Regions from separate parts of the Homo sapiens genome. Here region 2 is linked to region 1. The links are contacts of gene promoters, found by promoter capture Hi-C in human tissues and cell types (Jung and others, 2019). All regions are on one chromosome and are shown on one strand. The core of a region is centred on a gene start or on the middle of the fragment in contact, and the rest is flanking DNA. Distances in the headings are between cores, read along the strand shown.

Region 1 (5,552 bases), core at 1,576-4,075:
TGGCAGGTAAACATTGGCTACTAATAAATAGTTCTAGTAAGCTCTCCTCCTTATAACCTAAGGATTTATGTTATAGCTCACTTATCCAGTGGGCTTACCAGAATGCAGTCATATTCCAAAGTCAGCCTTACAAGGTCCCTCTCTGGAAAGAACTCAGTTGATGAGCCTCTACTCTCCTAATTGCTGCCCTTACATTTTTACATGACAAATCATCATCCTTTCTGGTTTTGCAGCATTTTAATAGACCCAGAGTTGCTTTCTGAGAAAAGTCTCAGTACTAACAAAGGTTAGAACTAACAAAGGTTGAACTAAGGATGACATGCATGTGGTATGTGCCCTTTCCAGTCCTCTTCCCAGGTCCATGAAGAAATCACCAACCAGTGAGAACACTCTTTCTACAGAACACAAACTCAGCTTCAGGCTATTTCTGAACAAGAGCTTTAGGAAGCAAAAGGAAACAAGTATGTAAGAACATTAAGAACATACCTGCCATACTTATACTAGAATGTAAGTTCCTTAAGGGCACAGACTGTGTCTGATTCATTTTTGTTTTCTCAACAAAAATGTTGATGGGGTGTTAACTAATTGTATAAAGTAGGAATAAGAGTCAGTTTCGTAAATGTTTTTTAAAAGTTGACAAAAGTATTTTCATTTTGATTCCAAAATTAAAAAAAGCTAATAAAGATATTACAATATTTTAAAAATCCAAATTTTATGAGAGTTCTTGTCTGGATGAAAATTAGAATACATTCACATTATCTCAAACGAATGAACATGTGTGACTTTATAAAAACAATACCTCCCTAAACCATGAATTCAGATGGAAAAACTCGACATCTTTATTTCTGCAGTCAGTCTCATTTTTCTTAAAACAGTTCAAACTAGTAAGAATTTTCCAGAAGTTACAGCTTGACTCACCCAACCTTCCAAGGAAAAAACAAAAAAACTTAAACAGACATTGTTTCACTCTCATCATTTCCCACCCTTACTAATAGTGGCAACTTAAGTGTATCTTAAAGCACTCCAACCTCTTCATAGAGCCTATTAAATGAGTATCTTGTGGACACCCACACACAGTCATAGAATCCTAAGTGGTGCTCAGACCAGTCACATGTCAGTGCATTCTTAATTGCTAGAGCTAACATGCTCTCAGCATGGTCTTTTAATTACACCCTAATAATTTATTATAGTTTCTCTCTACAATGTAAAGTCTTGGAAATCACCCACTAAAAAGTGCCTGTGTACTCTGGGGCTTTGGCAGGCTAGGGCAGAACTTCTGAGAACACGGTGTGTTCCAGAGAAGACAATCAATCTGAGAGGACTTACACAGAAACAGTTCATTCAGGACCTGGCTGCTGGCTTTTATCTGAGATCTGAGGATTTCACAATCACTTGGAGATACCTACAAGTGTATAGCACACCTTGGATATTACTCTTAATGATTACTTCATTTTGTAAAGAGGTGACTCCACCAACAGCAAAGGAGAGGGCCCAGCCCCAGCCACCAGGAATACAGTTCTCTGCCAGTAAGTGCCTAATGACTCATTTTCCTCAACAGAATTTTCATAAGGCTGGAATTCAGGGAGGGATGTCTGGAGAATGTCTGAAAGGAAGTTCACAAGCCACTGTCCTGCTCTTTGCTGGAGAAAGTGTCCCGTGGTAGCCAGAGAAGTTGACTAAGGCAAACAGCAACATGTTTTGGTAACATTTCCCCATTACCTTTCATGTACAATCCAAGAAAGGTTGCCATGAAGTGTTTTAATCAGGTTGGGAACATTATAAACTTCGAAAAAAGAAAACCATTAGTGGAAAAATTAAGGACACAGTAGATTTAACAACTGTGTTTACGTGGAACCACAAAATCTATCCAAGTGAATTGCATTAAAACAGACAGAACACTCCAAGAAACTGTTGTATGTGTATTTTTTTTAATTCAGTCAACCATTTTACTAATCTGTCAAGATGACCAATTTCTTTGGAATTATGTAGATTTAGCCAAAATGAAATTATACATAAGATTTACTTTTCTTTTCAGATGCTTTTTTATTTATTTTTAAATCTTTATAATTACTAGATGTTCTCCTCTCTCAGAAGATATTCTGAGAGGAAAGCAAAAATACCACTCTTGTAAAGCCATTTCCATTCTTCCAAAGGTCTGCTGGTAAATTATTCTTACTGATCTTTCCATCTTTCTAGCCTGTGCATACACACCTAACCCATACTAAATTTCACCAGATGGCATTTTATTTCTTTAAAGTAAAGCAGCCGTGGGTTTAGACAGTTGAATTTTTAAACTTCTGTATTTACTGAAAGTGCATATGGTGCTATATGGACAAAGAAATTGTGCTGAAAGAAAAACATTTCTGTCTGCAATACCTCATAATCTTCCAGAGGAAAAAAAAGTGCAGTTATATGGCACATTTCTCACAAAATCTTATGTGGCTTCAATGTTCTTCCTCTGTTAAAAAGTAGATATATGTTTAATGTACAGACCTGCAAGTTTCATTATTTTAAATTCATCTTTTAGTGGCAAATAAAAATGTTATGCAAAACCCAATGACTTGCTAAAGTGATCCTTCAGTGAATTCTAGAAGAAAATGCAACATAAACCTGAACTGGTAAAAAAGAAAAAATAAAAACCTCTGTATGTCAACGTAAGCAGATGTTGGTGTAGTTACAAGGATGAGAAGGCTATAAAACTTCCCTTGAGTCACTCACAGTTCATTTGAGGGCCAAGAACGCCCCCAAAATCTGTTTCTAATTTTACAGAAATCTTTTGAAACTTGGCACGGTATTCAAAAGTCCGTGGAAAGAAAAAAACCTTGTCCTGGCTTCAGCTTCCAACTACAAAGACAGACTTGGTCCTTTTCAACGGTTTTCACAGATCCAGTGACCCACGCTCTGAAGACAGAATTAGCTAACTTTCAAAAACATCTGGAAAAATGAAGGTTAGTATAAGCAACCTCAAGTATTCTTAAAAAATTAGGGTTGGCTGGATTGAACGTGATCAGAGTTTTCTATTGTTTAGAAGGTGAAGATTTGTACATAAGTATTTACTTCCTCAATGGGTTGGGATTGGAAAATTGTTCTAAATATACTGTAGAAACATTTGTCCTTGCAGAGCTGGAAGAATTCCAGCAATTATAGCCGGATCAGTGGAAAACAATCAAAAGCTTTGTGGGGCGAGAGAAAAAGGATTTAGGTGTAAACAAAATCTTGCCATTTCTACTATTTAGCAGGAACTGTGTGTATGCCTAATTCTCTTTATTTTATGTAGACTTGGGTAAAAATCGTATTTGGAGTTGCCACCTCTGCTGTGCTTGCCTTATTGGTGATGTGCATTGTCTTACGCCCTTCAAGAGGTAAGAACTTTCTCTGATTTGCTCTATCTGCCTAGAATAGCTTGGAAAATGTACTAATGCAAGATCACAAGTGGTTGAACATTTCCTAAGTGCTTATGTTCCAAAGTAAGTCTGTTATTTCTAAGAAGACATATAAGCTCACAGATATGTTGTTGTGCAAGACCAGAAATACTGAGGAATTTAAGGCATGGGTAGGAAGAGATTTACAGTGTTATTTCAGCAATAGAAAAACCTAAGAACTATGCTGCATCACCCCCACAACCCCCAAAAATATATGCTAAATACAAGCTTTGACAGGCCTTTAGAAACAACATTTTTAACTAACATTGCTTTTCATTATTAGGTTTGTCTCGTGGAAAGTAAAAATGAGTAAGAATGGAAAAGTTAAAACAGAATCTATGGACTTTTTTTATTACTAAATAGTCTTTCCAAAAATTTAGGGAGGAAGTTGAGAATACAGATCTCAGGAATAGCTGTATAGAAAAAGCAAAGTTGTTGTTTTAGATGTAGTAGCACTGCACATCAAATTAGAAAACCAAACATTGTTAAGCAAGCATTTTGATCAGTCATAAATTGGATCCTTTTACAAAAAAGGCTTAGATTGACACTGATCTCACTTTGCTAAAAATTGGAAGGTACTATGGGCTGATATCAGAGCTAGTTTAAATATAAAGTAGGACTATGTTGATAGATAATCTAGTGATATTAGGGAAATAGCTTTTTATGAAAATATTTATGAAGAGAAACTCAAGCTTCTGAAATGGAAAAAAAATCCAGTAATAACAGGTCTTATGTCTTTGTGTCTAGGAAAGGGGAAAAATTTGTACTAATAAATACTAAAAGTTTATGATAACAAATGTGGGAAATATCTTGGTTAAAAGTTAACTGATAGTAAATGAAGATCAATAAAATAACTTCAGCTAAAGAATGTATGAGTCCTGAATGACTGGACTGTTGCTATTAAAAAGAACATAGAAAAATGTTTTCGAAAATTAAAAATAATCATGAGATTTTCACAGAATTACAAAATAGAATAGGTTAACCCATAAGATGAAGTCAGCTGATATCTTCAGTGTTAATTTCAGTCTTTGTTTCTGCTCTCTGCCAGCACAAGATTCTTCTTAGGCTGTTGAGAGGTATGTAGTGTGTGTACATATCTTTCATAAATTTTCATGTTAAAATTGTTTTCAGACTCATCTCTGAACTCAGTGGTCTTGGGGCCACATTTCCCTCATACCAGCAATTGTCAGGTAGTGGATTAGGTCATATAGATCCTTTGAATGTTAATTCATTAAAAATTAGCTCCTGATTTTTAAAGAAACTCAACCTTGAAATTGATACTCTGCACCCTCAGAAATAAATGTTCTTGGAACAAAAGTTTGTTAATTTTATAGGGCACTTGCCTCCATGTCCATAGGGAAGGATGAATTTCACTATGGAATTCAAGCTATAATTTCTAATAAGAAATGCATTATATTTACATATTTACAAATGATGTATAGAGATACACATACACAGATATTTGTGTGATCACATATAATCTCAATCCCTACCCTCTTTCCAAGTTTAGTTATGTATAGCTTACATATAAATATACGTCGTAAACTATATATAGTATAAAAGTCCTATGTAATTTATAATACAATTCTATTTTCAACTAACAGGAAAATTCTAAGAATAAAGTGATTTCTTGATAGGGTGAAATAATCAAATTAAACTCAAGTACTCAGTGAAATTTGAGTACTCATTCAGAAATAGAAAAATCATAAATAAGGTGAGAACTGTTGTTTTTTGGTTCATTATATCATTCTCTTTCTCTTCTAAATTTGCTGAATAACTTCTCAGAATGTCAGCTAAACAGCTTGTGAATGGCACTAGTCATTACCCTACTTTCCTGAGCAGGACCCGGGGAAGTCAGTGCCACAGGCAGCCCTGAAGTTAGGCGTGGTGGCCTCCTAATTTTCCTCCTTTCTTCTCACATCTCACTGGTCAATCAATCATCTCCCGTCTGGAGTGCCAGGTCCAGTCCTCACTCTCACATCTGCCCAGTGCCTATGAGAATAGGATCTGAGATGGCAAGGCAGGAAAGGGAAGGAGGAAGGGGTAAAAAGAACAGAGAATTCAAAGCTAAGCGAGCTCCTACTTAGCCTCTTTCTCACATTCATCAGAAATCCCATTACTTCACATTTG
Region 2 (5,229 bases), core at 651-3,150, 150 kb after region 1:
GCAATACTTCAGAAATTAAGAAAATAAAGCTGGTAAAGAATTATATTAATGACAACTTCATTCTCACTCATTAAGCATATCATGTGCCCTTGAACTAGTGTTTTAGATATTCTCTATACCTCTTTAGTATTTACAATGTTATTTGCAAAGTGTTGCTCAAAAAAGACACTGAGGCAGAGTCTGAAGCAGCAACTTTCCCTAGGTTACAGAACAGTAGGGGCCTCAAGTCCATGTTCCATCTACTACACCAACATGTCTCTCAAATGTCAGTTACCAGAGAAGCCAGAGAATGGAACATGAAAATTGTTTGCATGTCCATGAAAGCCTGAACCACCCTTCCCACCCAAAGTTTTCAGTTTCTAGAAAAAATCTACAACAGAATTTTTTAATCTACAGGGAATTTTAAGTGCTCATTTAGAAAAGAAAAATGCATAATACACCAATCCGACAGGATTTACCATCACTCCTCCCTCTGCCTGGGTCATATGGAACCAAGGATACTCTTTTATAGTGTTTTGCTGAAGCTCAGGCTGTCTTGTCCCTGGTAAAGTTGTCCTCTTCCCCTTGTCTCAGATCTTCAGAGGGCCTCCAGGCCCTGTTGCACAACCTTCTTCTCTGTGAGGCCGGTGACCATCTGCTCACCATCCTTCGAACCAAAGCCCATTCATGCACAGCCATTTGGGCCACTGGAATGTTGACACCCAGTCTTTTCCTCTTCAAACTCAGTTGCAATGTATTTTTAGTTGCGTGGATCATATTTTTCAACACTTGAGTCATTTTTGTGTCTCTGCTTATTTTCCTCCTATTTCTCCATGTTGTGTAATATTCCTTTGAGTTATCTTTTCCCAAGGAACTCAAAGAACTTGATGATTCAGCCCTCCACCCACACACCGCGTGAGGCAGGAGACTCTCCCCCTTGCTTTTCTGAGGTACAAAACTGGCTCAGGTACAGCTCTATTTTTCCAGCTGTCAAGCAGCAGCTGACCAGATTTTTTTCTATGCACTAAAAATTGACACGCAGCGAAGTGTGCTGTGGTGTGGCAGGGTGAATACAGGGTCTCAGAAGACCACAAAGGCAAAACAGAATCATGGATCTCACAGAGTAGCAAAGACCCTATGCAGAGAAACAAACTTAACAATTTTCATATGTCCAGGGTCCAAGCTAGCTGCTAGAAATAAATGGAATAAAGCCTAATCCCTGCCCATCAGGAAGGAAATGACACAATGAATCAGCATTTATTCACTCAGTGAGTCAGTAAACACTTAATAAGCAATTATTATTGTGCCAGATATTAGTGTAGGCCCTAGGAGTATATCAGTGAACAACAGAGACAAAATCCTTGAATATTACTGGATAATAGTAGATAATTATAGGGCTCTGGAGTCAGGCCTCATGGGTTCAAATACTTGCTGTGTAATACTGAGAAGAGTATGTACCCCTCTGCACCTCAATTTCCTCATCTACAAAGCAGGGATGATAAAGGTACCTACTGCATGGGGCTGTTATGAGGACTAAATGAACTATTACAAGTAAAGAGCTTACCTGAATGTCCAGCACCTAGCACGGGGTCCATGAATCTTAGCAATTATTACATTAGATAATTGCATTACAGAGTGATGAGTGCTTTGTTAAAAAGCAGTGAGGCACAAGTCTGTTTGAGAGCACAGAAGCCATGCACCTTGCTAGGGCAGTGGGTGGGCAAAGCTTCTTGGATGAGATGGCACTGGAGTTGCGATCATTGACTAGGACCTTAGCCAAATGAAAAACAAAGGGAATGAACTCCAGGTGGAGGAAACGTTATGTTTGAAGTTTCAAAAGCAAAAGAGAGAGCAAAACAGAGATTGCATTTCAATTCTTAGAAATGAATGCATGTAGCTTAGTGTGTAGGTGGCGGGATGTTGGGGAGGAGCCATGAGAAGGAAGGCTAAGCAGAGACCAGAACAGGATAAGGGATTTGGATTTGATCCTGCAGCAGGGGAAGCCACTAGTTTTAAGCAGGAAAGTAATAAACGCTGCCATGGAAAGAAATGACAAAAGGAGAGGCCAGTTAGATGGGCTGGGCGATGACCTGGTCTGGAAGAAAGGAAGGCCTGAGCAAAGGTGGAAGAGAGACCATAGAGAGATGTGGACAATGAAACGGGAGATTAGAGAGGTCTGTGTGTGGGATAAGGAGTGAGCAGGTATCAAGGAGGACTCCTGGGTTTCCGGCTTGGGCCATGTGGTGGCGATACTCTCATGGAGGGAGAGCATGATGCAGAAGGACCTAATTTGGTGACTAGTGGGTAGGGGAGTAGTGTTGGTAATTATTAACCCTCTCTGGCTAATTTAGATTTAATAGGCCTATGAGTCATCCAGGTGGGGACCTTCCGGAGGCTCAGACTCCAGAAGAGAGATCCCAGCTAGAGAAATACAAGCAGAAACCATCAGCATAGAGATACATTTGAAGGCTTGGGAGTAACTGAGATGACTCAGTTCTTATCTCATTAAATCTCTGCAACTCTGGGAAGAAGGTTTTTAAAAAACAGCCAAGGGCACATAATAAAGGTTTTTAAAAAACAGCCAAGGGCATATAATTGGATTGCAGACCCAGGCTTGTCTAACCGTAAAGTCTTCGCTCCTTTGTCTTCTCCCTACGGCCTTGCAGGTGGCCTGGTGAATGGCTGCAAGAAGCAGCTGTCTCCATGTTGCCAGCTTTGGCACATGGCTGAGTTTACTCTATCCCAGAGCTGGTGTAGTTTCTAGAAATACAAACAATAGAGCATGGCTGCCACACTCAAAGCGAGGTCAGAGAGACAGAAGCTTAACAGATTGTTTTAATAAAATATGCTCAAGGCAGTGAAGGAGATGGGAGCAGGGCACACGTTTGGGAAAACTTTTGAGAATCGGGAAGGGCTTCTCAGCCTCAAAAGTCCTGATAAAATGCATATGTCAATCCTATCAACCTCCATCAAGTCTGTATATCAGAATAGACGAAGGTTTTCTTTCTTAATAAATTTTATGTATATAAAAGGTATACAATATATTATGAGATACATACATATAGTGAAATGGTTACTCTAGCAGAACAAATTAACATATCCTTTCATCTTACATAGTTACCAGTCCCCATCATGGCAAAAGCAGCTATATTTAATCCTTCAGCAAAAATCCTGAATGCAATACACCAGTATTAACTAGCGGCCTCAGGTTGTATATTAAATCTTTCAACTTGTTCACCCTACATTTGCTACTTTATGTCCTTTGACCTGCATCTCCCTATTTTCTCCCCATCCCCAAACCTGGTCACCACTGTTTTAGTCTCTATCTCTATATATTGCATGCTGTCACTTATATATGGAATCTTAAAAAAATGAAATAGGTTAGAATAGATGAAATTTGATAGCAGAGAAAGGGAGGAAGAGGTTGGGCCTTTGGAGGGGGACTGTTTGGAAGGAAATACTACAGAAGGGGATTCTTGGCATAGAAGAGACATTGAAAAAGAGGTGACAAGGCCTAGGAGGGAAACAGGGCACTTACAGCATGGAGCCAGGAGGACCACTACACTCTGAACATCAGATCCATAGCCCAGTGGATTAGCCTCCAGGAATTCTAATCTCCTCCCTCAGCTTCCTCTGGAAAATGCTTACATGGGGTTGGGGTTGGGGGCAGTAAAGCCTAATTATCTCAGACTTAGTCTTGTGTTGTTTGGCTAGAAAGCTCAGGTGGATTAACAACTGTAAACTGGTTTGTAAACTGTAATCCTGGAGATGTTCCTTATTTGTTCAAATTGATATTCCCAGGACATTTCCTGGTTTAGTAACTTCTCAATAAGTATGAGTCATCCTTCAGCTTCTCCTGAGATCACTTTTAGTGTATCTGCCAACATACTAATGCTAATACTCCGGTGGATATATCAGAGAGTCTTAAATATAAATATACAAATATTTCTAATGAAATCCTCAAAAAGTAGACATTGGAGCATGGGTGTTTTTTCTGGTCCCCATCAAAGTAAAAGCTTTCAACCAGCTCAGTAACAGGGTTTTTATGTGTAGGATTTCTTTTGAAAGACATTGGCTAGGTCTTTTACCATCTTCCTGCATTTCCGAGCATCTTTGACTATTATGGCTACTGTAGTCAAATAGCAGAGACACATCATCTGAATTATTAAAATAGTGTGGCTGAAAAAGGTGAGATAAATAATGGTAACACAGCTGTAGGGGTGGTTGAAAACAACAGAGACCGATGAATGAGACATGTTTGTTGCCAAAACACCGGAGTGGAACAATTATTATCAATGGTGTCTTAAATGTGTAAGATCGTCCATGGCTGCATCCCCATTTCGCATTGTGGAAATAAATGAAAACCACCCAAATGAGAACAAACAGGATTATTTTTTCAAGGTTTACTGTAGCAAGGGAGTCAGTCACCATCACTTAGCAGAGATTCGAAGGCAGGAAGGGCAGGGGGAAAGATTTATAGAGAAAACAGGAAAGGCTTCAGGTGTGCTCTGATCAAAGCCTGTTGGCATAAGAAACAGGAGGTAGGCTAATTAAAAGCAGGACATCTGACGAGATTGGTGTGGGGAGGATAGAAATCTTTTTCTGGTCCTGAGTTAGAAGCAAAGTTTACAATCCTGACTATTCTGGGCTGATTGCAGCAGAGGTTGTGGGGCAGAGTCCAATTGTCAGGTACAGTCTGGTCACTGACTGTTTGCATATTCAGTCTCTCAGCATTAAGATTTCAGAGATGAGACTGGGTATGGTGGCTCATGCCTGTAATCCCAGCACTTTGGGAGGCCAGGGCAGGCAGATCACTTAAGGTCAAGAATTCGAGACCAGCCTGGTCAACATGGTGAAACCCTATCTGTACTAAATATACAAAAACTAGCTGGGTGTGGTGGCAGATGCCTGTAATCCCAGCTACTCGGGAAGCTGAGGCAAAGAATCACTTGAACCTGAGAGGTGGAGATTGCAGTCAGCCAAGATCACACCACTGCACTCCAGCCTAGGCAACAGAGTGAGACTCCGTCTCAAAAAAAAAAAAAAAAAAAAAGATTTCAGAGATGAGCTTTCCCAGAATGAACTCGGTATTTCTATCATGTGCTGGAAGCAGCACTCTAAAAGAGCAGTGATACTCAGCTGATCCTGAGTCACTGACACGTTCATGCTGGAAGTGCGTGTGTCTCCAGAGCATGCATTCTGAATAAGGGCAATATTGCCCCCAAGGAATGAAAATTGGTTATTGAGGGC

Evidence for each region. The method cuts DNA at HindIII sites, captures the fragments that hold promoters and counts their contacts. A contact is called where the count stands out against the background at its distance.
Region 2: a contact is called between a fragment that was not itself captured here and the fragment with the promoter of FAP in region 1, in 1 of the 25 tissues and cell types used here (IMR-90 fibroblasts).

The regions. Positions count from the first base shown.
Region 1 is chr2:162,240,718-162,246,269 of GRCh38, reverse strand. FAP (fibroblast activation protein alpha) reads left to right here and starts at 2,825. Exons shown (of 26, transcript NM_004460.5): 1 at 2,825-2,948; 2 at 3,278-3,362. The coding sequence starts at 2,943. It overlaps LOC105373724 (a long non-coding RNA gene), which reads right to left and starts at 153. Exons shown (of 4, transcript XR_923544.3): 1 at 99-153. The HindIII fragment of the contact is 19,367 bases long and covers 1-3,412 here.
Region 2 is chr2:162,088,866-162,094,094 of GRCh38, reverse strand. It overlaps the pseudogene EIF3EP2. Among named protein-coding and RNA genes, the nearest start is that of DPP4-DT, 17 kb to the right of the region's middle. RefSeq lists an enhancer at 172-1,371. The HindIII fragment of the contact is 6,107 bases long and covers 1-4,953 here.